5 separate regions of the Homo sapiens genome follow, and all the other regions are linked to region 5. Evidence: promoter capture Hi-C in 16 types of primary human blood cells and fetal thymus (Javierre and others, 2016). All regions are on one chromosome and are shown on one strand. Each heading gives the region's core, a stretch centred on a gene start or on the middle of the fragment in contact. The rest is flanking DNA. Distances are from core to core; before and after follow the strand shown. Region 1 holds the start of CIAPIN1 (cytokine induced apoptosis inhibitor 1). Region 2 holds the start of CNOT1 (CCR4-NOT transcription complex subunit 1). Region 3 holds the start of ARL2BP (ARF like GTPase 2 binding protein). Region 4 holds the start of GOT2 (glutamic-oxaloacetic transaminase 2). Region 5 holds the start of SPMIP8 (sperm microtubule inner protein 8).

Region 1 (4,929 bases), core at 595-3,094, 530 kb before region 5:
TTAACTAACTGAAGCTCTTGTGCACATACATGTCACTGCCTGGCCTCTGGGTGACCAGTACCAAGTGGGCCTAACCAGCCTGCTGTGCAATCCAAGTCAGCCATTGCCCCTCTCTGGGCCTCAGTTTCCCTGCCAGCTTTAGCAGAATGGTAGGAAGGCACAATTACAACCTGCAAATGAGACCTAAGAAACCTACTATGTGCCTGTCCCTACACGGGAGACAGACAAGAAGACACTTGTTCCCTGCCCTCAAGAGAACGCTCTGTCTAGACACTTAGACTAAGACCTTAGAGGTTTTTTTTTTTTTTTTTTTTTTTTTTTTTTTGGCAGAGTCTTGCTCTGTTGCCCAGGCTGGAGTGCAATGGCACAATCTTGGCTCACTGCAACCTCCGACTCCGGGGTTCAAGCGATTCTCCCGCCTCAGCCTCCCAAATAGCTGGGATTACAGGCACCCACCACCACACCCAGCTAATTTTTGTATTCTTTGTAGAGATGCGGTTTCGCCATGTTGCCCAGGCTGGTCTCGAACTCCTGAGCTCAAGTGATCCACACGCCGCAGCCTCCCAAAGTGCTGGGATTACAGGCATGAGCCTGGCCCAGAATTTTTTTTAAAAAGTGAGAATCAACAATGAAACAGGAACGTCTCCAGGCATTTGGCGTGTGTCAGGAATTAGGGTTTCAGAAAGGATACCCAAATGTTAGTTTCCACAGGAAAGGCTCATTCAAAGATGGATGGATAGAACTCAGAAACAAATCCTTATGGAGAGGAGTGTTTTACCTAAAACCAGAAATATGGATCTAAAATTTTAACCTTTGGGGTAAGTTTTGGCTTAGGAGGTCTTCCCCGCACCCGTGCAGGGGGGAGCCGGATATTCTGAAAAGACTAGATTTGACAAGGGGTGTGCAAAGCACAACTTTAACAGACACAATGATGGGGTCTGACTGCAAACACAAAATCGACAGAATCACATGCTCTTGTCGTCAGTTACTCTTAGCCCAAAAACCGTTTACTTCTTCCTACTAAGCCTTCTCTGATGACACCCCCGTGAAGTGCTCTGTTAGTGGCTAGACCGTGACCTCCTTGAGCCATCCAGAGCTTGGCACTCAGTAATGTCAGAATGAAGGGCACCAGCCTTTCCCGAACTTGCAGATCCTACAAATCACCCGAGGGAGTGGTTAAAATGAGATTCCTGGACCACACCCAGACCCACTCAATCAATCCTTCTGGACAAAGGCCTAGCTGTCTGTTCTAGTAACAAGCATCCTTCCGATCTGGATACTTAATTATATCAACTCAACACGCTGGGGGTTCGGACAAGTTGCAGGTTCGAAATTACAATCGTGAGCTCAGGTACCCCCCGACTCCAAGGCTTTCGTGCTTTGCTGCCAGGAACCCCCAGGGACCAAAACGTCACGGGGACTGAGGCCCAAGGTCACAACGATTGGCTACTGGTAGGACCGGGTCTCAGAACCAGGTCTCCCCGATCCCAAGCTCGGAGCCGTTTCTCCTCAGCGTGGTGTCCCCGGGGCCTCAGAGTAGGGCCGGCTGCGCAAGGGACGAGGCAGCCGGGGAACGGCAGAAATTCCCAGTCAGGACCCCAGGGAGGTTAGGGCCGGCCCTGGCCCCTCACACCGACTTCTCAGGAATAAACCAGCCGGGGCTTTCAGCGGGGCGGCCGTGGCTGCGTTCCCATCGAGGAACGGGGTGGGAAGAGAAAATGAGAGGATGTGGGAACGAGGGTGGGCCGGGAGGGGACAGTTGAGGGAGCTCTGGCGCTCAGCTGGCCCCCACCACTCTCACCTGCCGCCTGGGCTCGCTCCCGGCTTCTCTCCAGCCGTCGACTCCACGCCTTGCGCCTCTCGCGAGAGGAGGAGGCTCCACGGAGCGACGACTTCCGCCCTCCTTAGGGCCGTGGTCCCGTAGCTACCGGTCGCGTCGCCGTGGGCGACGTGCCCGCTTCCAAAATGGCGGCGGCGGCGGTATCTGGTGCGCTTGGCCGGGCGGGCTGGAGGCTCCTGCAGCTGCGATGCCTGCCCGGTGAGGGGGCTGCCAAGCCGGGGAGAGGCGGGGAGCGCGGAGGGGGCGCGAGGCCGGCTTCAGCTGGGTTCGACGGTGGGGGGAAGAGGCCGTTGGGGCGGCCCACGAGCAAGGTGAGGTGAAGGGCATCGGCGCGGGCTCGGGCGAGCCGCCTGGCTAGCTTCGGCCCTGCTCCGCTGTCTGTGAGGGGCAGATGCAGCGGGGCAGGGCCTGTCACCCCCATTTCATGGAGTTGGCAGAGCCTCAGAGAGGGCTCGGGGTACGAAAGTCACGCAGCCTGAGCCTGTTGGTTACAGAACTGGCAGTCGCAGACCCATTCTCAAGTCCATTGCCAAGTCCACTGGAAGGACAGGTGGACACGGCCACAGAGAGCCTAGTCCATTGTTTCCCGAAAGCCAGCCGTTTCCTCACCACTTCACGAATTCTGTGATACTCTCTTACCACCTTTGCCACTATGTACTCAGTATTTTTATTTTTAAATAGGAGTTCTTAAAGAGGAAACTTTATATCATTGTCATAAATGGAAAACTAATATCGCCTTCCTTAATTAGAACGTATGCATTAACACTTTAGCATACATACATAACTGATGAAACGTTCACCTGTATTTCACCTAAAATCTTCTCATGACCCTCAGTGGTACTACAGTCATACTTTGCATCTGCTCCTTCCTTTTCAAAGTTTTGCGGATATTTGTGCCGTATCTTTCAGTACATGTATTAAAATATTGATATTTTGGCACATACTATTCTGTTTCTTTTTTTTCTTTTTTTTTTTTTTCTGAGACAGGGTCTGGCTCCTCAGCCTCCCAAGGAGCTGGGACTACAAGTGCGTGCCACCCTACTTGGCTTAATTTTGTTGTTGAGACAGAGTCTCACTCTGTCACCCAGGCTGGAGTGCAGTGGTACAATCTCGGCTCACTGCAGCCTCTACCTCCTGGGTTCAAGTGATTCTCCTGCCTCAGCCTTCCTAGTAGCTGGGGTTGTGCCACCATGCCCAGCTAATTTTTTATTTTTAGTAGACGGGGTTTCACCATGTTGGCCAGGCTAGTCCAAAACTCCTGACCTCAAGTTATCTGCCTGCCTCAGCCTCCCAAAGTGTTGGGATTACAGGTATGAGCCACCGCCTAGCCCCCTTTTGTTGTATTTATACAAAATTCCAAACTAAAGATGTGTAGTAAAAGTAATGTCTATGACCCCGCAAATCCACCAAGAGAAATGAAGGTATGTGTCTACAAAAAAGTTAGTACAAGTATATTCATAGCAATTTTATTCATAGTAGCCAAACACAGAAACAGTCCAGTTGTCTAGCAACAGAATAGTATTTTTTTTATGGAATACTATTCTGCAATAAAAACTAAAAATCAGTCAAAGAGAAAGCTGGACACTAAAGTGATAAGGACCATTTTTAATCAGTAATAACTATTGCAATAGGGAAAAGAGTCTAGCATGAACGGAGCCCAACCTTGAGTTTAGAGCATGCAGAAGTCACTGGGTGTTTCAAAGAAAAAATGAGGGAGGAGGGAGGAAGGCAGGTGGGGACTCAGTAGAGTCAGGATAGTGAATAATTATAAATAAGATTGGTCTGCTAGCTGGCAGTTAACAAAGTTAGGATTCTGTTTTCCCACAGGGAGACAAGCCCTATCCTTCTTAAGTGTTAGCCTGAACAAACAGTAAAATTTTTTTTGACAGCCTTGAGTTTTCTCAGGCAGGCACTTTAAAGGGGGGTAGGGTTATCTTAAGGGATGTGGCCCTGAGTGATGCTTATGTTAGTGTGTGTTCAAGTCTTTATAGGCCAAGGTTGAGGCCTAGATAAGAAGAGGGCTCAGAGGAGCCTGGTTAGAGCCTGATCAAGGAGAGAATCTTTGCCAGATATACTGATAGGCATAAAAATATGGATCAATCTCAAAAATATACTAAGTGGTCCAGGTGTGGTGGCTCACACCTGTAATCCCAGCACTTTGGGAAGCTGAGGTGGGAGGGTTGCTTGAGCCGAGGAGTTCAAGACCATCTTGGGCAACATAGCAAGACTCTGTCTCTATTTAAACTTAAAATAAATAAATATATATATATACACACACATATATAGTCCTAAGTGAAAGAAGCTTTACTGAAACATGTACATATAGATGAAATCTTAGGACAGGCAAAACTAAGACAAGCAAAAACTAACCTAGAGTGAAAAATTCAGAACAGTATGAATGGGGAATGACTGAAAAGGCATAAGGGAACTTTCTGGGGTGACAGTAATGTTCTCTGTTTAGATTGGGTTTAGGTTGTGCAAGTGTATACATTTGTCAAAACTCATAGAATGGTACACTTAAGATTTATGCATTTCATTGTGTGTAAATGGCATCTGAATAACAAAACAGTGAACGTAGAAGTCTTTGATGCTAAAATGTTTAGAGGTGAATAATACTGATATCTGCAACAAATGCACTGAAAATCAAGATGGATGAATGAAGAACATGACAGATGTGTTGAACCTAGTGGCAGATATACAGGTGTTCATTCCATAATTCTTTCAATTTGCGTGTTTGAAAATTTTTATAATAGGCTGGGCATGATGGCTCACGCCTGTAATCCTAGCACTTTGGGAGGCCAAGACGGGCGATCACTTGAGGTCAGGAGTTTGAGACCAGCCTGGCCAACATGGCGAAACTCCGTCTCTACTAAAAATACAAAAGTGAGCCTGAGAGTGGTGGCGGGTGCCTGTGATCCCAGCTACTCGGGAGGCTGAGGCACGAGAATCACTTGAGCCTGGGAGGCAGAGGTTGCAGTGAGCCGAGATAATCTCACTGCACTCCAGCTTGGCCGACAGAGTGAGACTCTGACAAAAAAAAAAAAAAAAAAGAAAATTTTTAGAATAAAAAATGTTGGGAAATAAAAAAT
Region 2 (4,613 bases), core at 137-2,636, 650 kb after region 5:
AAATTGTTCTTAATCTGTTTGACCTTCCTCCTAATATTTTACTTGCCTTCCCTCATTTTTTTAATCCATGTATTCCCTATTCCTATCAAAGGGGCTGTCATAAGGAAAACGTTCGGCATTGTTTCAAACAGTATAATTATATTCACTCAATCACTGACTTAAAAAAAAAAAAAAACCCAAGTAGTCACAGGCTATCGAATTGTAGAGAAATCGGCAGGGTAGGTTAAGCATTGTTACTCAGTTTTCAGGAAGAAAACAGACTTTATTAGAGTCCTAAGAAATGTGACATTTGATTAACTTCATGGGAAAAGTTTGTCATAAAGTTTATTTTAAATACAACATTTTCAAACGCACAGATGTCAAGCATTCTTTTTTAATCTACAAAGCTTACTCCTCGGGGAGTTAGTATCTGTGAGCCCTCTTGGGTGAATTCTGCAAAGGAGGTGGTACTGAAAAAGTATTATTTGTGTTTGGCCTTAAGTACCTCTACAAGACCTGCCGTGGATCTTATCAGCCTTGAGGCCTACAAGTGCTCAGCTCACTAGCGGGACACTTGTCCTGGGTGAGCAGGACCGCCACTACTGCAGACACCGGACCGAGTAGGTGGGGGCCAACTTCAAAGAAAGTGTGAGCGCCCAGGCGCGCGAGTGGAACAAAACCTGTAGCAAGTAATAAGGAAGTGCTTGCTCCCGCCCGCCCTTCCCATCCGGGGACACCCGAAACCTGGGGGGCTTTGACAACGTGCTGGGGGCGTAAGACGGGGAGAGTGGCAGCTCCGAGTACACGGAGAAGAACTGGAAACATGCAAAAACTCCAAACACGGTCCCCCCCGCCAGAAGCCCTAGGCCTCGGAAGCCGATGCCCACTGCAACCATCAGGGAGCAGAGACAGAAACAGTAGTTAAGGAGGTCGTGGAGGTCTCAGAGGGGTGCAACCCGCGCGAAGCCAGGCCCAGCGACACGAACTGCCGCCGCTGCCGCCCCCTGAGCCTCCAGGCCCGGGACAGAGACCACCATGGGTCTCACCCCGCGCTCTACCCTCCGCTTCCTGGAGCCTTCTCGCTGGCCTCTCATCTTCAGAGCGCGAAGCCTCCGAGAGCCGTGTGGAGAAGAGTCCGCCCTCTCCCGCCTCGTCCCACTTCCCCGTCCCGGCTGCCTCTCACTCCCTAGAGCTCCGGGAAACGCTTCCAGTGGCCCCAGGTCCACCCCTGTTCCTCCTCCCACCGGCTCTCGCGTTCCCAAGCTGACACCGCCACCCTACCCTAGCCCCTGACGCCAACCCGCCTCACCTCAGGCGGCTCCGGCAGCGCTGGACACAGGAAACTCCTGGGTCCCCGACTCCGGCTCTCCTCGACCCCCTCTTCGGTTAACTCCGCTTGTTTCTCTACAAAATGGCGCCGGAGGTCGCGCGCTCACGTCGCGGCCTTTCCCCTCCCCGTTCCCATTTCATCATTCGCTGCCCGCCCGAGGAGGGATGGCCCCAGAGCCAGCCAATGGCCGCGCCCCGCCTGTGGCTTCTACCCAATCACCGACAGGTGCCCGCGGATTTAAACCAATCACACTCTATCACTTGCAGAAGTCGAGGAAGAAATCAGGCTCCTGCTAGCAACTACCAATCCGGCCTCCTACTTCGCGGACTTTGGCCAATTGCCGCTCACCAGGCCCAGGGGACCGGAGTCAGAGCCCTCGCGCCTGCGCTCGAGGCGAGGGCCAATAGGGAGAGGCTGATAACTTCGATTTGGGGCTTCACGTACTTCCCACCTGCCCTGGAGGGCTGCGACCAGTGGGGCTTGGCATTGCCTTTGAGGAACAATAAATTATGGAAGGGGCCCATAACTCCTCGCCACCCTGCGCGGGAACTACTTTGAATTACAGTGAAACAGCTTTCCTCCACTTTCCTTCCTCTTTCGAAATGTCACGGTCCAGTAGACTTCGGGGATTCCCAACCGAAACAATCCCCTCCCCTAGTGTCCCTTTGGCGGGGAACGCCAGCCAGAAAGCAAGCCAGGTTGTGACTAGAGTTGGGGCGCTTTGCATCCTGGGATGTGTAGTCGCGCTCCTCTACCCCGTTCCCATCGCAGAAGTAATGCGTCTTCGTTCGTCGCTGCGCCCTAGAAGGAGCAGTGCATGCTGGGGGTTGTAGTCACCCAGGTGGCCACCTTGTCCTCGCTTGCTTCGCTTTGGTCAAGGGAACTTTCTGTTTTAGTTCTGTCTATTGAAGAAGGGACACCTTCCAGAGACGCCTTCCAGAGACGTAGGAGACGCAAGTTCTCTTCCTGGCTTAAGTCCTAGAAGCCGTCTAAGAAAGGATACCCATGTCCTTTGCTCTCAAGAGAAAAAGCATAGAAACATATTTTGCTATGGTTTGTTTGTTAACTATGATAGTTGGTAAGATTTTATACTCACCTGTACCCAAAAGAGAAAGGATTGGGAAGGAAGTGTTGACTGGTTAGCTCTATTACCTTTTGAAATTAAGGCCGGGCGCGGTGGCTCACGCTTGTAATACCAGCTCTTTGGGAGGCTGAGGCGGGTGGATCACGACGTCAGGTGATCGAGACCATCCTGGCTAACACGGTGAAACCCCATCTCTACTAAGATACAAAAAATTAGCCGGGCGTGGTGGCGCACACCTGTAATCCCAGCTACTTAGGAGGCTGAGGCAGGAGAATCGCTTGAACCCGGGAGGCGTGGGTTGCAGTGAGCAGAGATCGCGCCACTGCACTCCAGCCTGAGCGACAGAGCAAAACTCTGTCTCAAAAAAAAAAAAAAAAAAAAAAAGGCAGGGCGCTGCGGATCACGCCTGCAATCCCAGCACTTTGGGAGGCCGAGGCGGGCGGATCACGAGGTCAGGAGATGGAGACCATTCCGGCTAACACGGTGAAACCCCGTCTCTACTAAAAATACAGAAAAATTAACCGGGCGTAGTGGCGGGCGCCTGTAGTCCCAGCTACTCGGGAGGCTGAGGCAGGAGAATGGCGTGAACCCGGGAGGCAGAGGTCGCAGTGAGCCGAGATCGCGCCGCTTGACTCCAGCCTGGGCGACTGAGCGAGACTCCGTCTCCAAAAAAAAAAAAGAAAAGAAAAAGAAATTCAAACCTATCCCTGTGCTCACCCCTGTCCTCAGACTAGGCTCAGTAGGTGGTCTTCTGGCCATCTCTCTCATATTACCTCTCGTGCCCAAAAAAATACTTAAAAAAAATTATGGTAAGAAACACATGAAATTTACCATCTTAATCATTTTTAAGTGTAGAATACAGTAGTGTTAACTATATGCATATTGTTGTACAACAGATCTCTAGAACTTTTTCATCTTGCAAAACTGAAACTACATCTGTTGTTTAACACCTTCCATTTCCCCCTCCCCCTAGTCCCTGACAATCACTATTCTTCTTTATGTTCCTGAGTTTGATTACTTTAGATACCTCATATAAGTGGAATCATGCAGTATTTGTCTTTTTGTGACTGGCCTAGTTAACTGAGCATATGTCCTAAAAACACATCTTTTTTTTTTTTTTTTTTTTTTTTTTTTTTTTTTTTTTTGAGACGGAGTTTTGCTCTTGTTGCCCAGGCTGGAGTGCAATGGTGCAATCTCAGCTCACTGCAACCTCCGGCCTCCCCAGTTCAAGCAAGACTCCTGCCTCAGCCTCCCAGGTACCTGAGATTGCAGGCACGTGCCACCACACCCAGCTAATTTTTGTATTTTTAGTAGACACAGGGTTTCACCATGTTGGTCAGGCTGGTATTGAACTCCTGACCTCAGGTAATCCACCCGCCTCAGCCTCCCAAAGTGCTGGGATTACAGGCATGAGCCACCAAGCCCAGCCTAAAAATACTTTTCGACACCTCCCTTTCCTTAGTTGGAGGCCAGGTCTTTCAGCCTACATTTACTGAGTCCCTTGTGCTTTCAAGCAACTGTGCAAGAGCAGAACTGTGCAAGAGCCAGGGACCCCACATATAGTAAGAAGAAGGATCACTTCCGTCTTGTTCACAGCTGTATTCTCAGCACCTAGTATTGTGTCTGGCACATGGTAGGCATATGTGCAAATAGGCCTTGCAGGGTACTAAAGGGAGAAATCGACTTACAACATTGTAATCTTAGAAGTAAAAGGCCCCCTAAACAGAACAAGGATGAGGAATAAGGCCCTTCCCTGCACGGTTGCTAGTAAAAGTTACCAAAACCCCTATGTAGAGCAGCATTTTGGCCGAGTTTATCAAAAGTGAAAATGCCGACCCCACTGACCCAGTAATTCCATGTCTAAGAATTTACTCCACAGATGAACATTGCAAATGTGTGCAGAGTGCATACAGATATACATGGAAGCGTTGTTTATGGGGACCCAAAAGATTGGAAACAATAATAAAATGTATGGTACTTTGGGCCAGACCCCATCTCTACTAAAAATACAAAAATTAGCCAGGTGTGGTGGCAGGCGCCTGTAATCCCAGCTATTCGGGAGGCTGAGGCAAGAGAATCACTTGAACCCGGGAGACAGAAGTTGCAGTGAGCGTAGATCGCACCACTACACTCAAGCCTGGGTGACAGAGTGAGACTGTGACTCAAAAATAAATAAATAAATAAATAAATAAATAAATATCGTACTTTTTAATGAAATAT
Region 3 (5,243 bases), core at 1,667-4,166, 730 kb before region 5:
TTGAAATAGGCCCTTTGGAGTGGGACTGGACCCAGGTCCCACTAATGCTTGGTTTCCCAGTCTGTAAAATGGAGATACTACCCACCTCATACCGGTTTTTTGTTTTTGTAAGGTCTCAAATATTTCAAAAGGAGACAATGTATTTATAAATGTTTAGCACACTATCTGATACATCCTTGAGTGGGTACTTTTTATCTTTATCCCCATTTGTTCCTAGAGTCAGTAAGGTTGGTGAAATGGATTAAAAGATGGCCACAAATTATTTGACATCCCTCCCGTCAAGAAATGAGGTTTATGTCTACTTTCCTTAAATTTGGGTGGCTCTGGGTCTGCTTGATCAGTGGAACACAGTGGAAGGGCTATTGTGCCAGTTTCCAGTACCAGGTCTTTAAGTGACTGCCAGCTTACATTTCAGTGTCTTGAAACACTTGCTCTTGGACCCAGCACCATGGTGTGAGAAAACCCAAGAATCCCCTGAATCCTATAGATGGAGAGGAACTGAAACCCCCCAAACCCCGGCCCCAGTTCTCTGGCCAATGTCCACAACTGAGAGCCAAGAGCCAACACTAATTTGCCAGCCATGTGAGTAAACTCCTTGGAGGAAGCTCCTCTAGTCCATTCCAGCTGCCCCCAGCCGACACCAACTGGAATAGAGACTAGCTGGCCCTGCCCAAATTACAGATTAGTGAGCAAAATGGTGGTTTTAAGCCACTAAATTTTCAGGTGGTTTGTAACAGCAATAGATAACCAGAACAGATTAAATCAAGGTGTGTTCCTCCTCCACTCCATCAATGACTTAGGAAGGGTAGGCAAATTCATTTTGTCCAGAAATGTGTGGTATATAGAGAAAGTAGGTCATGAAGAAACTCTCTGAGTTTGCTGTAAGCTGTGTGACCAGGGCTTGACTAAACAACTCAGTCCAGTAATTCAGCAAATCTTTTTAAATGCCTATCTTCCACTTGGTGCTAAACAGAGTAACTCATAATTGATGTCACCTGACCGGGTGCGGTGGCTCACGCCTGTAATCCCAACACTTTGGGAGGCCGAGGCGGGCAGACCACCAGAGGTCAGGAGTTCGAGACCACGCTGGCCAACATGGTGAAGCCCTGTCTCTACTAAAAATACAAAAATTAGCCGGGTGTGGTGGCACGCGCCTGTAATCCCAGCTACTTAGGAGGCTGAGGCAGGAGAATCCCTTAAACCCGGGAGGCAGAGATTGCAGTGAGCCGAGATTGCGCCACTGCACTCCAGCCTGGGCAACAGAGCAAGACTCCCTCTCAAAAAATAAATAGGCCGAGCGCAGTGGCTCACGCCTGTAATCCCAGCACTTTGGGAGGCCAAGGCGGGCGGATCACCTGAGGTCGGGAGTTCAAGACCAGCCTGACCAACATAGAGAAACCCCATCTCTACTAAAAACACAAAAAAATTAGGCATGGTGGCGCATGACTGTAATCCTAGCTACGCGGGAGGCTGAGGCAGGAGAATCGCTTGAAACCGGTAGGCGGAGGTTGTGTTGAGCCGAGATTGCACCATTGCACTCTAGCCCGGGCAGTAAGAGCGAAACTCCATCTCAATAAATAAATAAATTAGTAATAATTTATGTCACCTTGGTCACAGCTGTCACACCCGACTGTGTCTTTGTAACCATCTTTGTTTCAGATCCCACGGATATCTATTTTAAGTCCATTCAAAGATGTCTGCTAGGCCGGTTGTGGTGGCTCACACCTGTAATCCTAGCCCTTTTGGAGGCCAAGGTAGGTGGATCATCTGAGGTCAGGAGTTCGAGACCAGCCTGGCCAACATGGTGAAACCCTGTCTCTACTAAAAATTCAAAAATAGCCGGGCATAGTGGCACGTACTTGTAATCCTAGCTACTCGGGAGGCTGAGGCACGAGAATCGCTTGAACCTGGGAGGCGGAAGTTGTAGCCAGCCGAGATCGTGCCACTGCCCTCCAGCCTGGGCGACAGAGCAAGACTCCGTCTCAAAAAAATAAAAAATGTCTGCTAACCCATTCTGACTGGCCACCTGACCCTCAGTTCATACCTTAAACCCCTCTAGTTCCTCTAGTCATATACCACACTTTGGCCATAAGGTATCATGCAACTAAAGAGACACAATGCTTAGTTGTCCAATCAAGAGAAATCAGCTCAAACGAATCCTTTTTCAAAGTTTGGCAGTTTTGAAGAGGCCTTTTCCTGAAAGGTATCTGATTCCTGATTGCGTGGCTCAAAATAGTTCTTCAATTCTCATCTTGTATAATTAGTCAAGAAACCAATTACTGCCGAGTAATCTTTATGATGCGAAGATTATAACGTAAATTACAGGACATCGACTTCTTGCGATGGGGCTTTCCTTCCACGAGGGGTAGGAACTGTCTTGAAATCAGACGTCAGCATCACCTGGTTCAAGGGATAAGGGACTGGCTCTCCAGCGACTTGGCAACTTACAAGCGCTCTTTAAACACGCCTTAAACTACTTATTTAATCCTCCACACTCAGGGAGGCGCAATTTATTCTCGAGTTGCGAGTGAGGAAATTCTGGCTCGTGGCTTCGATTCCTTCATCCGTACAATGGGGGCGACTTGAGACGGAGTTCCCACACAACGGGTGCTCGCCGAAGCGCCGCATCCCTCCGCACTCCCTTCCGGGACTTCCTCTCCCTGTCTTGCCCCGCCCCGGCATCGGTAACGCTCGCCTGTGATTGGATGCCGGCCGGCCGTGAGGCGGTGGAAGGGGTTGCGGTGGCCATGGTGACAGGAGGCGGGGCGCCGCGCCCCTCCGGCAGTCACCGAGGCCCGGACCTGCGGCGTCGGCGGCGCGCGCAGAGGGCCAGGCGGGCGTAGAGGCCGGACCGACGCGTGGCGGCAGAGGGTATCCAAGGCCGGACCTGGCGCGCAGGCGCTGACCCGACCTGGCAGTGAGCTGGCCGCGGCCTTGGCTGAGAGGCCTTAACCCCGCCGGGCGGCCGCGCCCTGCATGCGAGTTGGGCCGCGGGCGGGGTTGGAGCCTACTCGGGGCGACTGCGATGGACGCCTTAGAAGGAGAGAGCTTTGCGCTGTCTTTGTGAGTAGCTCCTCCAGGGCGCAGGCGACTTGGGGCCGGAGGCAGCGGGCGTTCGCCCCGGGGCCTGACCCTATAAAACAGGTGTCCTTAGGGGCCGGGCCGGGCCGGGCCGGGCAGGGTGGGGGCCGCCAAGGCGCCGTCCCAGCTCCAGGCCTTCCTTTTGTAGAGTACTAAGGCTGCAGGTTTCAGGCCCCGCAGGACAGGAGTGCGAGGCGGGTGTCACCGTTGATCAGCGCCTCCATCACAATCCCCAGCCGCCAACCCTCAGCTGTCAGCAAAGCCTGGAGGGGTTGAGCGCCCGAGGCCCCTCCACCCCTCCCTGGCCCCCGCCTCCCGGACTCCTGACCAAATGACCCCCCCCGGCAGGTGTTTCGCCCGTGCCGGGTTCATGCTCACAAGCAGACAGGTATGGGGTGATAGCTAAGAGCCTGGAGAACAAGTTTTTATTAAAGTGGAGTCATGACATTGAACGTTCATGTCACAAACGTGCCGAGTGTGTTTTCTTCTGTTTGGACTTACTAGATCAGTCAGTCATTCTTAATCGTTGAAGATGGGTGATGGGAAGTTCGTTTTGCTACTCTTTTTTCTCTTGTGCATGTTTGAAAACGTCCATACTAAAAACATTTTTTTAATGCATTATTTGAAATAGCACCTAATCCAGGCATGTTTTTCAGCTCCTCCGCCTCTGATGCAGAATTTGATGCTGTGGTTGGATATTTAGAGGACATTATCATGGGTAAGCTTTTAAGATACTGTTTTTAAGGACTTGCTTGTTTCTTTAAGGACATTGAAATCAATTTGGAGAGTTAATTTTAAAAAGAGAAAACATCAAGCTGCCTGCAATTTTTAATGTAGCACAATGTAATACTTAAGTAAAGGCTTACTGCAGTTTGTCTTAGAAACAAACAGCCCAGTACTCCTGAAAACATCTAATAAGCATAGATTCAGAGGCTGGAAGGGACTGACTCAGGCTAATAGGGCACCAGCAGTGTGGCGTTCTTCGCAAAACTATAGGAAATAATGATCTACTCTATTTCTTATGTAGGGTAAGAGCAATTTCAATTTTAGATAGTTTTGAGTTTTAACATTTTCATGCCATAAAACACATAAAACCAGGCCAGGTGCGGTGGCTAACGCCTGTAATCCCAGCACTTTGGGAGGCCGAGGTGGGCGGATCACGAGGTCAGGAGATCAAGACCATCCTGGCTAACACGGTGAAACCCTGTCTCTACTAAAAATACAAAAAAAATTAGCCGGGCGTGGTAGCGGGCGCCTGTAGTCCCAGCTACTCAGGAGGCTGAGGCAGGAAAATGGCGTGAACCTGGGAGGTGGAGCTTGCAGTGATCCGAGATCGTGCCACTTCACTCCAGCCTGGGCGACAGAGCGAGACTCCGTCTGGAAAAAATAAAAATGAAAATAAACACATAAAACCATAACCATAAGCACACATGGCCATAAAGAAAACAAGGTATTAAGCTTCAGCTGGTTCTGTATTTTCCTAGGTTTTGAGTTCCTACTTGTGGATGTATTTGGGCATCCATGAAACCTGCTAAGTAACAGAGAAGCAGTAACAGTCCCCAGAGGTTTAAGACAAGTATGTAGGAGGGGAAAACTTACATTTGAGAAAATTCTGTTGACTTTAAGTTTTATGAGAATTGAGAAAAGAACACTGTTATTTGGTGTTATTGGCTGTATGGCTTAATCCATTTAGAATGAAAATTACTGACCAAGTTTTTATACCTTCAGGTATAAAGGTTCATGCCCTTAACTCCTGAATATAGATGTTTCATCATTAAGCTCGTTTCCCATGTGGACTTGGGGATTTCTGGGGAATACTGAAGAATCCATTCAGTTCTCTTGCCTATTATACCCTATATGCTATGGGAAAATGAGCCTTCTGTGAGCCTACGGTATTTATCCCAAAGTCTGGGTCCTTTCTGAAACTTTCCTTTTATTTTTAGAAATAATCTATTCAGTTGTTAAAATTCCTTATTCCGGGATGGGTACGGTGGCTCACACCTATAACCCCAACACTTTGGGAGGCCAGCGCAGGTGGATTGCTTGAGTCTAGGAGTTCGAGACCAGCCTAGGCACCATAGGGAGAACCCTGTCTCAATTAAAAAAAAAAAATTCCCTATTCCCTATCATTTATTAAGTGTTCACTATGAACTAATCTATTT
Region 4 (5,229 bases), core at 1,277-3,776, 760 kb after region 5:
ACAAGGTTTTATTGTATTAGAATGAGCCATTTAAATAGAAATGTCGATGAATTCAGTTTAAGTATTTTCCACTTTTACCATTTGGAGCTAGGTAAAGATCACTTCCACAGTGTAAGGAGGGAAGTCTGATCTTGCCTGAAGAGTTAACCTTCATGCCAAATATGGCATCTGATTCTGTCACCTAATCAGGTATCATTATTTAAATCTGAAGAGTAATTCCTCAACATTAGGTGCTCAACTATTTCAAGAATTTATTTTCTGGTCAGGTGGGGTTGCTTAGCCTATAATCCCAGCGCTTTGCGGGGCTGATGTGGGAGGAGTCTGAGACCAACACAGGGAGACTCTGTCTCTACAAAAAATAAAAAATTAGCTGGGTGTGGTGGTGTATGCCTGCAGTCCCAGCTACTTGGGAGGCTGAAGCAGGAGGACCACTTGAGCCTGGAAGGTCAGGCTGCAGTGAGCCATGATTGTGCCACTGCACTCCAGCCTGGGCAACACAGTGAGACCCTGTATTTAAAGAAAAAAAAAAAGGGAATTTTTTTTGGTACATATTTTGCAGCACTGTGGTTCCCCTGTGTAAGATTAGTCGAGAGAAGGAACAATAAAATCTGTAACTGGTTATGATCAATTAGTTGTAAACACCATTACACTTGGACCAGCCTATGTTCAGATTTTGATCTAAGATACAACATTAAAATGTCATACTGTATTTGTTTCCGTTGCATTACGTGAAAAATCAGGGCTTAAAATAAAAATATCCAATATAAGAGACATGCCAGCAACTGTTAATAGTGCTGAGATGTAACAGTGAATATAAAGTAGGTAAAGTCTCCGCTCTCATGGAACTTACATTCTAGTAAGAAAAATACAGAAAAGAAAAATGAGTCAGACTCTCAAACTGAAAGAATGACTAACCCTGACCCCAAGGGATTTTCACCAAGCACTAGAGCTTCAGGTGATCTAGCCAAATCCATAAAACAAGGTATTATTTTAAGATTACTGCAATAGGGAAACATACTTTCTCTTGACGGAAATTTTAAGCACTCCTTTGGTTTTCCAAATTTGTTGCATAAATAACTCCTCCTGGCTCTGGCCCACTAGGTAGGCAGACTTAAAGAGCACACGTTGACAGTGGGCCAGGAAGGAGCCAAGTCAGGAAGAGAAAAAAGTGCGAAGCCTGGGCAAAACTGTACTGCCAAGGCTGTGGGGCCTTGGAAAGGACAGATAGTTCTGCTGGCTGAAAGACACAGAGCATACATTCAAACGAAAGGCCAAGCTACGCTTTGCTCCTTGCAGTTAATACCTGCTTGGGGGTGGTTTTAAAACTCAGTTCCTTATTAAGGTAGTGCTTAAGGAGAGTGCTCCAAATCGGCTTCTTGAGTTGAATTAATCTTCTGGCTCCGGTCTCCACTGGGAATGAATTACTAGAGCTCGTTTCAAGCTCTGAAATTTCCCTCCATACTATTATACACGCCACAGTACGAAATTACGTTTGTCATTTTTTGAGCAATGACCATTTGTCATTGTCCTTCCCTCGCCTTGTTCACAGTTGTATCGTTGGCATCTGGTCCAGAGCCTGGCTCTGAGAAACTGCAGTTACGAAATATTTACTGAATGAAAGAGCACAGGGAGATGGAGAGGAAGATTGATAGCCTCCCTGCAACCGGACCTCCTTAGGGGCAATAAGGAAAAAACAAAACAAAACAAAAAAAGAGACACACTACACCTCGACCCTTTCCCAAGCAAAGGCCAAACGGGCCCCGGGGTCACAGGGACCTCGGGGGGTCGCAAGGTCAGGAGAATGCCGCACGCCAAGGTCGCAGGTGCGGGAAGGAAAGCGAGGCCCGAATGCCGGCGCCCCGGAAACCTTCCTCTCGCGCTCTTCCCGCCCAGGGCACACACGCGGCAGCCAGCCGCCGCCGGCCCACCGACTCGGGCGGGCCGGGGGCCAGGACAGGTGCGCCCGCCGCCCCCAGGGCACCCTATCAAGGGCACGGTCGTTACCCGGCGCCGCTGCCCCAGTACTATCCGCACCCCTCCCACTGAATGGGAGTCCGGCAACCGCCGAGGGCCACACTTCCTTTCCCTAGGGATTGCGTTGCACGCCTTCCTGCAGGGCCCAGTGCGGGGACCAGAGGGATGTGGGATCCTGAGGATCACTGTGGGGCACGGACGCTCAATCCTCAGTCCCCAGTAAGGGAAAGCCGAGGGGGTGGCAGAAAAGTGTGTGTGTGTGCGTGTGAGTGACAGTGTGTATTTGGGGGCCGGGAGGGGTGAATGTCCTGGGGTGCTCGCAGCTCGGCGGGGCAGGGCCATCGCCCTGGCTCCATCTCCGTTTCCCTTGGCTTACCTGGCTCTGGCAGAGGCCGCGGCGGCGAGGCCCGGGTGGAAGGCGGCGGCGATCCCGGGGAGGACGCGGCCGGAGTGCAGCAGGGCCATGGTGGACCGTAGGAGGGCAGTGGGCAGCCGCAGGACGGAGCAGAGGGCGAGCGGACACACACACAGGGAACCGGCTCCTGCTGAAGGTAAGGACAGGGACTTCCCTGGGCCAGAGCGGCCGCGTGCTGGGCCCGAGCCACGTCACAGCGATCCCTGGCGGCCGGCGGGCGGAGCGGCGTGGGCTCAGCGGAGGTCGTGGAAGAGGATGACTGCACAGTTTACCTACGCCCAGCCCTTGCTGCGCTTCATTCATTTAATCCAGCTGGGCCAGGCCTGGCCGGCCGAAGAGGTGGCTGCTGTTATGGCAGTTTGAAAGATGAGAAAATGTAGGCTGACATAGTTGACGTATTTTGTCTGATGCCTTACAGCCATTAGGACCCAAGGTGGCCTTACTTTCAACCCTAATAGTTTCCCTAAGCACAAGTCATGTCACGTCGTTCCTGAATGTTTCCTTATCCCCCACCCTTTTTTTTTTTTTTTTTTTTTTGAGATGGAGTTTCACTCTGTCACCCAGGCTGGAGTGCAGTGGCGTGATTTCGGCTCACTACAACCTCTGCCTCCCAGGTTCAAGCGATTCTCCTGCCTCAGCTCCCCGAGTAGCTGGGTTACAGGTGCCACCACCACGCCCGGCTAATTTTTGTATTTTTAGTAGAGACGGGGGTTTCACCATGTTGACCAGTCTGGTCTCAAACTCCTGATCTCAAGTGATCTGCCCGTCTCAGTCTCCCAAGACTGCTAGGATTACAGGCATGAGCCACCGCACCTGGCTTCCTTATCCCTTTTATGGAGAGGGTCGCATGTGTATTTTGTGGGGCAGTTGTGAGGATTAATAAGATTAGCAGATTATGTCTAAAACAGGGCCTGATTTAGTAAGCACAAAATAACCCATGGTCATTAATGACAAACTCGTGTATGTCAAATCCTGATAACTGTTTGTGGAAGGAAATGAATCGGTTTTGAAGGAAATGAATCGGTTTTAAAGGAAAAAGCAAATGAATTTCAGACACATCCACAAGTCAAACGAGTCTTTCTCATGTGTAGTCTATTTCTCTGATACTCGTCTCTTAAACCAAGGTAGGGGCCCGGTGTGTTGGCTTATGCCTGTAAACCCAACACTTTGGTAGACTGAGGCAGGAGGATAGCATGAAAACAAGAGTCTGAGACCAGCCTGGGTAACAAGATGAAACCCCCATCTCTTAAAAAAATAAAAAAAAATTAGCAGGATGTGGTGTTGCGTGCCTGTTCCAGCTACTCAGAAGGCTGAGGAGGGAGGATTGCTTGAGCCCATTAATTCAAGAGTGCAGGCCGGGCGCGGTGGCTCACGCCTGTAATCCCAGCACTTTGGGAGGCCGAGGCAGGCGGATCACGAGGTCAGGAGATCGAGTCCATCCTGGCTAACCCTCTCTCTACTAAAAAAATACAAAAAAAAAGTAGCCGGGCATAGTGGCGGGCGCCTGTAGTCCCAGCTACTCGGGAGGCTGAGGCAGGAGAATGGCATGAACCCGGGAGGCGGAGCTTGCAGTGAGCCAAGATCGCGCCACTGCACTCCAGCCTGGGCAACAGAGCCAGACTCCGACTCAAAAAAAAAAAAAAAAAAAGAGTGCAGTGAGCCAGGATTGCGCTACTGCACTCCAGCCTGGGTAACAGAGTGAGACGCTGGCTCTAAATAAATAAATAAATACATACATAAATAAAATAAAACCGAGATAGAACTGTGTACCTTGGCAATTTAATATCTCCTCTGTGGCTCCACGTTGCCTGAATGGTAAAGTCTAAACCCCTACTTAGGGCCACATTCTAGGTCCTTCCGGCCCAGCTCCAATTTACTGTCTCAGACCCTTATGCTCTCATATGACCTTGACCTATGCGCCTATAGGCCATGACTTGGGATTCTACCTGTGAAAAGTAAAGTAGAGATTCTTCTTTAAAGACTTTCCTCCCTGTCTAATTAGAAATAAATAGTAACTTCTCTTAAAAACAAAATGTATTCAAAGACCTGTACTAACAGTCTTAAATATCTGCTAGCCATAATAAAGAAATCAATGTACTTTATGTTCCTAGCTGCCACCATTTAGCCTAAATATTTGCCCTGGCATGCTTATACTGGTCCAAGCAAGCATTAGGTCATAGCCTGTTCCTCTTCCTTATTTGAAGGTGTTTTTACCTTTCTCAGCATTCCACAAGTTACTTCCTCCTTCCTTTGCTCTCCTCTGCCTTTGCCTCTTTTAAAAAGTTCTAAGTTGCTAGCCAATCAGAACAAATACAAAATGTGAGGACCTGTTCCAGCCAATGAAAACCGGACACAGCAGCAAGGTGGATGTATCAGGTTATAAGTGACCTTGTCTCCTTTGTTTGGTGTACTCTCATGGCAAAACTGCTGTCGAGTGTACCCTTTCTGCCGAAAGTATAAAGATGGCCTTGCTGAGGAAATTAAATTTATGTTCAAGTGCTATTTCTTTACAGCACCAAGAAACAAGAATTTCAAACATACCAGTACATCAGTTTGCTCAGACTGCTGTAACAAATCCCCATGAATTGGGTGGTTTAAAACAACAGAAATTTATTCACTCACAATTCTGGAGGCCCAAAATCAAAAATCAAGGTATTGGCAGGGTTTGTGCCTTATGGGGTCTCAGAGACTCTGTTCCATGCTTCTCCTAGCTTCTGGCAATTGTCTGCACTCCTGGGCATTCGTATGCTGTTAGAGGCATCACTAATCTCTGCCTCTGGTGTCACACAGTGTTCTCTCCCTGTCTGTCTCTTCTCTTCTTTTAAGGACACCAATCATAT
Region 5 (4,912 bases), core at 290-2,789:
TACATCATGTTGCTATGAACATTTGTGTGCAAGTCTTTGTGAAGATATATACTTTTTTTTTTTTGAGACGAAGTCTTGCTCTTGCCGCCCAGACTGGAGTGCGATGCTGCGATCTCGGCTCACTGCAACCTCCGCCTCCCAGGTTCAAGCGATTCTCCTGCCTCAGCGTCCTGAGTAGCTGGGATTACAGGCTTGCACCACCACGCCCAGCTAATTTTTGTGTTTTCAGTAGAGACAGGTTTTCACCATGTTGGCCAGGCTGGTCTCAAACTCCCAACCTCAAGTGATCTGCTCACCTCAGCCTCCCAAAGTGCTGGGATTACAGGTGTGAGCCATCGTGCCTCACAATATACTTTCATTTCTCTTGGGAAGCCTCCTGGGGTAGAATCTTCCAGATGACCCAATCATATGGTACATTTCTGTTTCATTTTTTAAGAAACTGATAAACTGTTTTAAAAGTAGTACTCCATGTCTTGACCAGGGTGGGTGGTAGTTATACGGGGTCTCATTTTGTAAATTATTAGTTACATTAGATATTTATTCACTTTCTGTATTTCTTCTATTTTATAACTTTAAAAGAGTCAAGAAATAAATTGGGGGTGGGGTGGTGAGTGGAGTCAACTCTGGGAAGGTTTTTTGTAAGGGGTAGCAGTTAGGAATGCTGTTCTGGAAGCTGTATGGAGCACTGGAGGAGGAGCAACTGGGGAAACAAATCCTACAAGAATTTCACAGGAGGGGCTCCAAGACCCATCAGGTTCAGCCCCTGGGCAGGTATATGCAAAAGCACATGCCAATATATGCAAATAAGTTAGGATCTCCTGGGGTTTCCTCACCTTGGGGGTCTGTCTCTAATGGTTGTGACCAGGATGGTGGGCAGGCCCCAGGGCTTTGGGGTGCTGGCCTTGGGCACTCACAGCCTGGCTTTTCTGGGAGCCTGCAGTCCTGCAGGGGCTGAGGGTGGAGTATCATCTGCTAATCCCTGGCCTGCTGAGTCCACCACTCTCCCTGATCCCCTCACGCTTACCCTGGATACTGGCCACAGCTAATCTCCACTCCTGGAGACTCAAGGGCTGGCAGACAGTGCAGTGCCCTCTTCCCTGAGGGTTCCAGGGAGGGGAGATCCCTCTCAGCATCCAGATCCTCCTAACGGCAGATCCTAGAGTCCTTGCCTAACACAGAGGAGAGCCTTGAGTCCCAGAGAGAGGCGGTAATTAGCCCAGGATTACACAGCCTGCAGTGGGCTCAGTAGCCATTTCTGGCCTGCCTTGGCCTGACTACCTCCAGGGAACCCCAGCTCCCCATCTGACATTTCCCAAGATGCCTGGCCTGTGCTAAGGCCTGGGAGACCACAGCCTTCAGGAAGGCTGGAAGGGAGTGGCCAGAGCACAGGAATTCTGGCACAGGCTCTTGTTAGAGCCTGTAGTTGCCAGGGTTGCTAAGGAGTGGGTGCCTCAGAATCAGGCTGCAATGGGCATTGTCTGTGCACAATGTTCCTTTATTCTGCTGCTGTCCATAATAAGGGCTCGTCCACCTCCCTTCCTCTTCTGCCCATTGAGCAGTCAAAGAACTGAAAGTCCTTATAAGCCTGTGCACCTGGGCCTGGGCCCTACAGATAAGGTAGCTGCTATTGGTGAGTCAGAAGCAGGGAGCCCTTGCTCTCTTCCCCATATCCGTGATCCCCCTCCCTGTCCCTCCCCAGGCAGTCACATCCCCTAAGGCAGCTTCCCCATGCCTTGTCACCATGCCCCCTCCCTGCTCCTCCATGATCTAAGGTCCTCTCTCCTCCTGCCACCCTAGCTTCCACCTCCACCTCTCACCTCTAACTCAGGGTCAGGAAGAAAGCAAGCTGTCTCAACAAATTCTCACTAAAGTGTAAATGACTGAAAGGCTCCTGGGACTATCTGCTTTTTAAAGGGAGGCACTGGGTATCCAGTAATGCTTTTCTAGTTTAAATATATCATGTTGCTCCCCTTCCTGAAAATCTTTCTGAGTCAATCTGTAGAATTTTGGGTAAATAGCTAGGGCAAGTCCATAATTATTCACCCAGAGGTATACGGCATACTAAGCTACATTCTGAACCCGCTTGCTGCTGCACTTTCCTGCTTATTATTTAAGAATAGACTCGCCAGGCAAGGTGGCTCACACCTGTAATCCCAGCACTTTGAGAGGCTGAGGCGGGTGGATCACTTGAGGTCAGGAGTTCGAGACCAGCCTGGCCAACACAGTGAAACCCCGTCTCTACTAAAAATACAAAAACTAGTCACATGTGGTGGTGGATGCCTATAATCCCAGTTCCTCAGGAGGCTGAGGCAGGAGAATCACTTGAACCCAGGAGACAGAGGTTGCATTGAGCCAAGATGGCGCCACTGTACTTCAGTCTGAGCAGAAGAGTGAGACTGTCTCAAAAAAAAAAAAAAAAAGAAAAGAAAGAAAGAAAAAAAAACGAATAGACTCAAATACCACCTCTTTTAGACCATTCCTTGAATGTCCTAACCCCAGCCTCCCCAGAAACACACACTCTGTACTGACCTCCCTCACAGCCATGGCACAATGTGAGTGTGTGTGTGTGTGTGTGTGTGTGTATGTGTGTGTTGGAAGGGGAGTGGGAGGGTTGTCTCTGTTATCTTCTGTTATCTGAATGTTCCTGCCACCTCATGCTGAGCTCCAGAAAAATGGCCTGGCACACAGTAGGTGCTAAATAAATGTTTGGCAAGTAGACATCGGCACTGGCCAAGGTTGTTTTCATGCAGAGAAGGGTGTCTGGCCAGCATGAGCCCAGGGTGAGCCCCTTAGAACCCTCTGCCCCCCAGCTATGGCCCGCATCATTGACCTGGTGCCCTGGGACGATGGCTCCACACATGTGTATGCCTCCCCGGCCATCCTGCTTCCCATGGAGCGGCAGCGCAACCAGCTGGCGGGCGTGAAGCAGCAGCTCTACCACCCAGCCCTGCCCACCCTGCGCCACATGGACAGGGACACCGTCAAGGCCTGCCTTCCTGATGAGCACTGCCAGTCCACCACCTACTGCCGCAAAGGTTAGGACACCAGTGTAGGATCCCCTTTGGGGAAGGGGCAGATGGTTTCAGGAAAGAGGGAGACAGATGCAAGGATGAAAGAGGCCAGTCCCAGCTCTGCTGCTCCCTGCCCAGGACACTTTGGCCAGGTCTGAGCCTCTGTTTACTGCTCAGTACAATGAGGATAATTGACAAGGCCTACCTCAAAGTGTTGTTGTGGGGTTAGAAGGAGATAAGGCACAAAAAACACTTAGAGGCTGGGCGCAGTCCCAGCACTTTGGGAGGCCAAGGCAGGCTGATAACCTGAGGTCAGGAGTTTGAGACCAGCCTGGTCAACATGGTGAAACCCCATCTCTACTAAAAATACAAAACTTAACCAGGCGTGGTGGCAGGCACCTGTAATCCCAGCTACTTGGGAGGCTGAGGCATGAGAATTGCTTAAACCTGGGAGGCGGAGGTTGCAGTGAGCCGAGATCACATCACTGCACTCCAGCCTGGGCAACAAGAGTGAGTCTCCGTCTCAAAAAAAAAAGCACTTAGAGTAGTGCCTGGCACATAATATGTGCTCAAAAAGTATTGCTGATGCCATTGTTGTTATTGTTGTTTTGTTTTTTGAAGACAGTGTCTTACTCTGTCGCCCAGGCTGGAGTGCAGTAGCATGATCACAGCTCACTGCAACCTCGACCTCCCAGGCTCAAATGATCCTCCCATCTCAGCCTCCCGAATAGCTGGGACCACAGATACGTGCCACCCTGCCCTGCTGATTTTAAAAAATTATTTGTAGAGACAGGGTCTCCCTATGTTGCCTAGCCTGGTCTCAACTCCTGGGTTCAAACGATCCTCCTGCCTTGGCCTCCCAAAGTGCTGAGATTACAGGCATGAGCCACTGTGCCTAGCCTGTTGTAATTAATGGAGAGAGAACTGGGCAGAGGTTGACAGGTGCAGTGGTAGGAGTCATAACAGTAGTAACTTCTGCCCAAGCATCTCTGTATGTGGAAAAGAGAGAGAAAGACCTCTCCTCACAGCCCCCATGCAGGAGAGGAAGACGTGTGGGCCTTCAGGGCAAAAGAGCCCCACGGGCCTAGTGAATAACCCCGCATGGACTGAGGAGCTTGCGTGTGGAGGGATTTAGAAGGTATTTAGCAGATAAAGTCAACAGGAGTAGGTGCAGGCGGGGCAGGGTAGGAGGCCAAACAGGGGGAGTGCAGGCCCATACCTAGGCTCCAGCTTGGGTGACAGGTGGGCTGAGGGTGTCAGAGACCGCACGGAGATTACCAGAGTTGCCACATGGGCCCTAATGGGAAACACAAGTGAGGGAAGTGGGTGGGGAGGCCGTGGGGAAGGAACACTCCACAGGGAAAAGGGGCACCCACACCTGCCCTATTTAAACGGCAGCCACGGGGTTCCCCACAGACTGTGCTATGTTGGAGGGGCCAGCCAGGTCACCAGTTCTTCCAATTTCCCGCTTCTGAGAGAAGCCAGGAATCTAGATTTTTAAGGAAAGCTCTGATGTAGATATGTATTTTATTGTAAGCATATGCTTTAAGTAAAAGTAATAGTCAGAACTTCAAAGCTCAAAATGCTATAACAATATGCACAGCAACAAGGCTCACTCCCACTGCCCCCGCATACAGGTAACCACCCCCCCACCACATTCTTAGTTTCTGATGTCTCTCCCTGGTTTACTAATGGGAATATAAACACATGTTATTTTGCTCCCCAACTTTTTATTACTGTTAACTGAAAACCCAGAAATTTGTAAATTTAGGCAGGGTACGGTGGCTCACACCCACAATCTCAGCACTTTGGGAGGCCAAGGCAGGCAGATCACGTGAGGTCAGAAGTTCGAGACCAGCCTGGCCAACATGGTGAAACCCCATCTTCACTAAAAATACAAA

Evidence for each region. The method cuts DNA at HindIII sites, captures the fragments that hold promoters and counts their contacts. A CHiCAGO score of 5 or more calls a contact.
Region 1: a contact is called between the fragment with the promoter of CIAPIN1 here and the fragment with the promoter of SPMIP8 in region 5, in 10 of 17 cell types (neutrophils, total B cells, M1 macrophages and 7 more). The highest score is 13.6, in neutrophils.
Region 2: the fragment with the promoter of CNOT1 here is called in contact with the fragment with the promoter of SPMIP8 in region 5 in 1 of 17 cell types (fetal thymus); the score reaches 6.3 in fetal thymus.
Region 3: a contact is called between the fragment with the promoter of ARL2BP here and the fragment with the promoter of SPMIP8 in region 5, in 6 of 17 cell types (M0 macrophages, total B cells, monocytes and 3 more). The highest score is 9.1, in M0 macrophages.
Region 4: a contact is called between the fragment with the promoter of GOT2 here and the fragment with the promoter of SPMIP8 in region 5, in 4 of 17 cell types (total B cells, activated CD4 T cells, fetal thymus and 1 more). The highest score is 10.1, in total B cells.

The regions. Positions count from the first base shown.
Region 1 is chr16:57,445,541-57,450,469 of GRCh38, forward strand. It overlaps CIAPIN1 (cytokine induced apoptosis inhibitor 1), which reads right to left and starts at 1,845. Exons shown (of 9, transcript NM_020313.4): 1 at 1,802-1,845. It overlaps COQ9 (coenzyme Q9), which reads left to right and starts at 1,939. Exons shown (of 9, transcript NM_020312.4): 1 at 1,939-2,038. The coding sequence starts at 1,966. RefSeq lists an enhancer at 1,757-2,051. The HindIII fragment of the contact is 5,604 bases long and covers 1-4,140 here.
Region 2 is chr16:58,628,440-58,633,052 of GRCh38, forward strand. CNOT1 (CCR4-NOT transcription complex subunit 1) reads right to left here and starts at 1,387. Exons shown (of 49, transcript NM_016284.5): 1 at 1,289-1,387. RefSeq lists enhancers at 464-1,140, 1,141-1,816, 1,265-1,474, 1,765-2,254. The HindIII fragment of the contact is 12,291 bases long and covers 385-4,613 here.
Region 3 is chr16:57,242,343-57,247,585 of GRCh38, forward strand. ARL2BP (ARF like GTPase 2 binding protein) reads left to right here and starts at 2,917. Exons shown (of 6, transcript NM_012106.4): 1 at 2,917-3,063; 2 at 3,738-3,799. The coding sequence starts at 3,026. LOC124903697 (a long non-coding RNA gene) reads right to left here. Exons shown (of 2, transcript XR_007065082.1): 2 at 3,473-5,243. RefSeq lists silencers at 2,636-3,015, 3,106-3,315. The HindIII fragment of the contact is 5,456 bases long and covers 1-3,802 here.
Region 4 is chr16:58,731,790-58,737,018 of GRCh38, forward strand. It overlaps GOT2 (glutamic-oxaloacetic transaminase 2), which reads right to left and starts at 2,527. Exons shown (of 10, transcript NM_002080.4): 1 at 2,351-2,527. The coding sequence starts at 2,439. RefSeq lists silencers at 1,852-1,941, 2,042-2,131 and enhancers at 2,254-2,872, 2,572-2,651. The HindIII fragment of the contact is 10,522 bases long and covers 1-5,229 here.
Region 5 is chr16:57,975,005-57,979,916 of GRCh38, forward strand. SPMIP8 (sperm microtubule inner protein 8) reads left to right here and starts at 1,540. Exons shown (of 8, transcript NM_199456.3): 1 at 1,540-1,630; 2 at 2,811-3,035. The coding sequence starts at 2,813. The HindIII fragment of the contact is 9,202 bases long and covers 1-4,912 here.